2 separate regions of the Homo sapiens genome follow, and region 1 is linked to region 2. Evidence: promoter capture Hi-C in 16 types of primary human blood cells and fetal thymus (Javierre and others, 2016). All regions are on one chromosome and are shown on one strand. The core of a region is centred on a gene start or on the middle of the fragment in contact, and the rest is flanking DNA. Distances in the headings are between cores, read along the strand shown. Region 1 overlaps RIC8A (RIC8 guanine nucleotide exchange factor A). Region 2 holds the start of TALDO1 (transaldolase 1).

The links. The method cuts DNA at HindIII sites, captures the fragments that hold promoters and counts their contacts. A CHiCAGO score of 5 or more calls a contact.
Region 1: a contact is called between a fragment that was not itself captured here and the fragment with the promoter of TALDO1 in region 2, in 1 of 17 cell types (neutrophils). The highest score is 5.5, in neutrophils.

Annotation. Positions count from the first base shown.
Region 1 is chr11:213,060-216,009 of GRCh38, reverse strand. RIC8A (RIC8 guanine nucleotide exchange factor A) reads right to left here. Exons shown (of 10, transcript NM_001286134.2): 9 at 2,592-2,711; 10 at 897-1,780. The coding sequence ends at 1,660. It overlaps SIRT3 (sirtuin 3), which reads left to right. Exons shown (of 7, transcript NM_012239.6): 7 at 1-980. Among named protein-coding and RNA genes, the nearest start is that of MIR6743, 5.2 kb to the right of the region's middle. The HindIII fragment of the contact is 3,738 bases long and covers 1-2,950 here.
Region 2 is chr11:745,951-749,275 of GRCh38, reverse strand. It overlaps TALDO1 (transaldolase 1), which reads right to left and starts at 1,812. Exons shown (of 8, transcript NM_006755.2): 1 at 1,698-1,812. The coding sequence starts at 1,794. It overlaps LOC105376509 (a long non-coding RNA gene), which reads right to left. Exons shown (of 3, transcript XR_930962.3): 3 at 2,314-2,527. RefSeq lists silencers at 1,212-1,301, 1,402-1,691, 1,752-2,351 and enhancers at 1,531-2,179, 2,482-2,541, 2,180-2,828. The HindIII fragment of the contact is 13,110 bases long and covers 1-3,325 here.

The DNA.
Region 1 (2,950 bases), core at 216-2,715, 530 kb after region 2:
GGTGGTCACATTCTGTTGACTCTCCATACTCAGCCTCTCCTCCAGAAACAGATCTGTTCCAGAACATTCCAGCACTTTCTATCTGGCCTCCTTGTCCCCACACTACGCCCCCCCACCCTCGCCAGGGCTTCCTCTAGTGACACTGTTAGAGCTAATCTCTGAGACAGGGAAGGCATTACTCACTTAAAACCCAGGCTGAGTCCTGGCCACCTGCTGGATTGTGACATAGGAGGTGGAATCCACTGAACTGCTACTTCTGCACAGGCTCCTTCTCCTGGGGCTGTACCCAGGCCCAGCCCTGATGGCTCACCCTGTCAGGCACCAGCTGCTCCCTCCTGGGCTCTCACCCACCTGCACATCCTCCTTCCTAGCATCACATTACCTGCGTGTTTCCCCAGACAAAAGCACTTCCCATTCTTGAACCTTGCCTACCCTGGGCTGAGCTGACGGCAATAGATTTAATGACAGTGACTCCCAGGAAGGGGGTCCTGTGACTTTGCGCCTTAATAAGAACAAAAGGTGGAATTGGTGACCTAGGAAAACTGTTGAATTCTAAAAAGAATGAAGTTAGTTTCTAACCCTAGTTAATGTTCCTTTTTTATTTTTTGAGTCTTGCCCTGTCACTCAGGGTGGAGTGCGGTGTTATGATCTCAGCTCACTGCAACTTCCGCCTCCCGGGTTTAAGCGATTCTCCTGGGTAGCTGGGATTACAGGTGTGTCCCACCACACCTAGCACATGGGCATATTTGTAATAGAGACAAGGTTTTGCTATGTTGGCCAGGCTGGTCTCGAACTCCTGGCTTCAAGTGATCCACCCACCTCGGCCTCCCAAAGTGCTGGGATTACAGGCATGAGCCACTGTGCCTGGCCCCTTTATTTGATAATTTACACATACATTTTTGTCCAAAACTCTTCTTTATTTCAAGATGATGTTTCTGTGGCTATGTGTGGTATGTGGTATAAATCTCAATCTATGGTCACACGAGGGGCATTTTCCTTGTTGTAAGTGTAGTCTAAACCAGTAGGAAGGAGGTTTAATTGCCAAAACCAGCGAGAACTCGGGCACTGTGGATACTACAGTGGGCAGCTGAACGAGGACCAAGGAGAATGTCTAAGAGGCCTCCAGCCCTGCGCTCAGTGAAGACAGGACAGGAACAACAGAGCATACATACCTTGGAAGGGTGTGTTCTGATATACTCGTATGGAAAGTTCTGACAGGTTTTCTCCCTGGGAAGTGCAGCACATACCCCAACACACTGGCTCTGCCAGTGTGCCAATCCCAGATGGTGCTTGCTTTGTGTGCACCCACACCCAAACCCCTGCCCTCCCATATGCTCTTCTGTGTGCCCAGGTAGGCCCTGCCCTCAGGCAGCAGCTTCTGAACACATTCCTCTTGGCGCAGACAAAAGAAAGTACTTCGTCTGTGGAATTCGAGGCTGAGCCTGAGTTCTAGCACAAGAAGACCGTTGCAGTCCAGAGATGAGAAACTGGACCAGAGGCAAATCATGAACAGAACGGGAGTCAAGAGAAGGGGTTTCTAAGATGGAGAAGTGGGGGCGGGTGTGGATCCAGTGGGATGTGGCTTCCCCAGGTTGCAACCCCAAGGAAGTCTCTGGAAGCAGCACCAGTCCTGATGGGGGAGCAGAAGAGCTGCCATCCTCAGTCAGGGTCCGAGTCAGGGTCCGAGGAGAGCTGCTGCTCCATAGTCTCGCACATGGCATCCTGCAGGGACGTAAGATGACCCCGGGGACTCATCCCCATTGGCTGGATGACTCTGTTCCTGTTGGGGAAAGGTGCAGTGGGGCTGGGGAAGGGGCCCAGTTGGCCAGGCAGGGGTCCTACTCACCCGTGGCTGCTACCTTCCTCTCTACCAAGTAGGCTGCTCCCATTTACTGGGGAAGCCTGGTTGGACCTTCTGTTAACTGGGCCCAAACCCTAACTGCTGCCTCCTGGCTTTAAGCAGTTTCCTATTTTAAACATCTAAATTGGCCTTAAGCAGGCTCTTAATTTGGACACTGGGCCATCTCCAATAAATCTGGCGACATTAGTCTCTTTTTTTTTTTTGAGACGAAGTCTCACTCTGTTGCCAGGCTGGAGTGCGGTGGCACAATGTCAGCTCACTGCAAGCTCTGCCTCCTGGGTTCAAGTGATTCCCCTGCCTCAACCTCCCGAGCAGCTGGGACTACAGGCGCCCACCACCACGCCCAGCTAACTTTTTTTTTGTATTTTAGCAGAGATGGGGTTTCACCATGTTGGCCAGGATGGTCTCGATCTCCTGACCTTGTGATCTACCTGCCTCAGTCTCCCAAAGTGCTGGGATTATAGGCGTGAGCTACCACGCCCGGCCTTAGACAGTCTCTTAATTTCTCTGGGCCTCAGTTATCATCTGTAAAAGGGGCACAATACTGATCTCAATATACCCATCCCCTGGGGGATTTCCTCCAGGGCAAGTGATTTCAAACGTGAGCAATGCAACCTAATACCAGGATCCTAAGCTCTCCTCTGATCCTACCTCCTGGGGCTCACAAGACAGGATGTGGGTCAGCTCTCCCTTCTCCCAGCTGCAGGCCCCTCCTCCTCATGCCACACACCTGGAGAGCTTGTCAAACATGGTCACCAGCTTCATGGCCTCGTGCTCCTTCTGCTCCTCTGTCATGCCCTCCATAGGGTTAGGCGGCTTCTCCTCCACCCTCCCGGTCACAGGGTTTATGCTGTTTCCCAGTGGGTGGAATGTGGGGAATGCATTAGTGACTCTCCAGGACAGGAGGCAAGCCACCTATTTTCCCAGTGGGGTGAGGTGGGCAAGGCAACTGCAGGAAGAGGCCTCCCTCCAGAAGCGGCACAGGTAACCAGCTCCTGCCATCTGCCACCTTCTGGTATCCCAGATAGCACTTAGGAACAGGTGCTTGATTCTGGAAGCTCTTGCCCATTTGTCATCCTGTCCCACCCT
Region 2 (3,325 bases), core at 563-3,062:
ATGCAACACCGCACCCAGCTAATTTTTGTATTTTTAGTAGAGACGGGGTTTCACCATGTTGGTCAGGCTGGTCTCGAACTCCTGACCTCGTGATCCACCTGCCTCAACCTCCCAAAGTGCTGGGATTACAGGCGTGAGCCACCTCGCTGGGCCAGAAGTTTTCTTAAAAAACAATACAAAACAAAACCAGAAACCCAGGACTCCCCAGCCCTCCTGTGGGTGTGGGTTTAGGAAAATCCATCTTTATTGGCCCTGCACTGCCAAGTGTAATGGACCTGACACTCCGCACCAGCTCTGCCCTAACTGGTGAGGGCCAGTAAGGAACAATACAGATGAGCGCTCTGTCCACCAGGCAAACTGCAAATTATTCTCAGTGCTAAGAAGGGAAAAAACTGAGCAGCAGAAAAATGTGTAGCCCCTTTTCTGGAGCTTTCTTTCTTATGAAGAGAGGTCTGGACTACAACGGGGGGGCTGTGTGTGTGAGGGATTCACAGCTCTAGCTTTGGATCTCCCAAAGAGGGGTCCGGAGCAGACTGTGGCACCCCAAGCCAGTCACTGAATCCCCATATTTTATGGTTAAGCAGCCAAACATGCCAATTCACTCTCTAGGCTCTGCTAGATAAACAATGCCCTTACTCAGTTACCAAAGAGGAATTAAAGCCTGTTTCTCAAGTCACCATGAGAAAGCAGAAAAGAGAGGAAGTCACTTCCGTATTAGGTGCTCGCAGCATTCATCCATGAAGCGTTTCATGATTTTCTTAAAAAATATTACTTGTTCTCAACAAAACATAGACACAAGGCTCGTCTACTCTGCACTGCAGAGGACAGAAGAGCTAAGTATTAATAAATAATCCTTCTTTGTATTTTCCAAGTTCTCTCCAATGTAAACAACTCAAGCCCAGGAAAATCCAGTATTTAACAGTGTACCAACCCTGTGCTTTCATGGGCACCGGCTTTTACCCACCCGGTGCGTCTGGCGGTGGCTGTCCAGCAGGCCGGGCACCTGCCGCCCACGGAGTTGTCCCACTGGGCACCGCAGGGCTCAAGGGCGATGGCAGCACTGGCAGCTTCTGGTCAGAGCTAGCTGATGTCCCCGCTCTGCAGACATCAGCCCAACAAAATTGCATCTCGCTGACCACAAACTGGCCACGTGGAAGTCAGCTCGAAGCTCTACCCTGAATCTCTCCTGAACTCAAAGGCTCTGAAAGCTGCCTCGACCCATGAAGGTGCACAGAGGGGCTCCCGCGGGCTGCCCACAGCCCGTCCCGGGTGCGGGGTCTGAGGGCGCAGCCGACCCCACCCTGGGCGGAGGGCGAGGCTGGGGCTCCGGCTTCGTGCCCCACGGCTCGCAAGGACCCGTCAGTACCGCCCGCACCGCTGACCCCAGCACCGAGCCCCTCACGGCTGACCCCAGCTCCTCACGGCTGCCCCCGGCCCTGCTCCCTCACGGCCGACCCGGGCCCCGTTCCCCTCACGGTCGCCGCTGGCCCTGCGCCTCTCACGGCCGACCCGGGCCCCGCTCCCCTCACGGCTGTCCCTGGCCCCAACATCCGGCACCTGCGCTCATTCCTCCCGGAACGAGCCGCCCGGGGCACCGCCACCCGGTCCGCGTCCCGGAACGGGAGACCCGGGGAAATCGGGGCGCCGGGGCCTCTGGAGGGCGCTTGCGCCGCGCCCGGGCTCCGCGCCGTCCTCACCGTGGAAGTCGCCCGTGTCGGCCACCACGGTGGTGAACTGCTTGAGCTGGTCCAGCGCGGACTCCATCCTCTGACGCTTCACGGGTGAGCTCGACATAGCAAGACCGAGGGGTCTGCGGCGGCGGCGGCGGCGACGGGACGGGCGCGCGGACGGCCCACAATGCCCCGCGGGCGGCTGCCAATCGGAAAGCGGCGCGGGAGGGCGAGGCCCGCTGGTCCCTGCGCGCCTGGACGAAGCCCCGCCCCCGGGGACGAAGCCCGAGCGCCACTGCCGGCCGCGCACCGCAGCTGCGGATCCTACAGGCTGGGTCTCCCCAGGTCCTCAGCAGCCGCCGCGGACGGGCCCGGGAAAACACCTGCACGACACGGGGCGGCTGGGCCTCGCCTCCTTCCTGCCCCGCGGGACGCACCGGGAGGGCTGGAGGAGATGGACCTGGCCCGGGTGCCGACTCTGCGGGGCTGAACCCGCCAGGGCCGAACCCGGCGATGCAGGATCCATGGTGGGGCCAGGACTGGGGTCGGGGGCCGCTGCAGGAAGCAGGGGAGGGAGCGGCGGGGGACGCCCTGCGGGTGCAGGAGGCAGAGCAGGGGGCGGCTGCAGAGCCCGGGCGCCGGACGCGGCGGGGAACCTGCTTCTGGGAATCTGTTCCCCTGAGTCCTAAGCCCAGAGGTGTCCGGGGGACCGAACGGCGAGGCAGGCGTAGGAGGCCCAGCTGCCCTGCTTCTTACCATCGCTGACTTGCAGAGTTCCTTGTATATTCTGATCAAGTCTCTGTCGCTTGTGTCTGCGTTGCAGACACTGTAACCGCCCCATGGGTTCGCCTTGCCAGCTGCCGGGACAGAGTCTATTGTCAAGACAGGGGAATTGCAATAGAGAAAGCATAATTCACACAGAGCCGATTGTTCGGGAGACCAGAGTTTTATTCCTCAAATCAGTCTCCCCAAAACTCGGGGATCCCAGTATTTAAGAATAATTTGGTGGGTAGGGGGCCAGTGAGTCAGAAGTGCTGACTGGTCAGCTAGGGATGAAATCACAGGGAGTCGAAGCTGTCCGCTTATGCTGAGTCAGTCCCTGGGTAGAGGCCACACAACTGGTTGGCAGGTCCAGGTGGGGCCATCCGGTTGTCAGAAATGCAAAAACCTGAAAAGACTTTTTTTTTTTTTTGAGACGGAATCTCGCCCTTGTTGCCCAGGCTGGAGTGCAGTGGCGCGATCTTGGCTAACTACAACCTCCGCCTCCCGGGTTCGAGCGATTTTCCTGCCTCAGCCTCCCGAGTAGCTGGAATTACAGGCGCTCACCACCACGCCCGGCTAATTTTTGTATTTTTAGTACAGACGGGGTTTCATCATGTTGGCCAGCATGGTCTCGATCTCCTGACCTCGTGATCCGCCCACCTCAGTCTCCCAAAGTGCTGGGATTCCAGGCGTGAGCCACCGCGCCCGGCGGAAAAGACTTCTTAAAAGGCAAATCCTAGGCTGACGCGGTGGCTCAGGCCTGGAATCCCAGCACATTGAAAGGCCAAAGCAGGCGATCACTTGAGGTCAGGAGTTGGAGACCAGCGTGGCCAACATGCAAAACCCCGTCTCTACTAAAAATACAAAATTAGCCAGGCGTGGTGGCACATGGC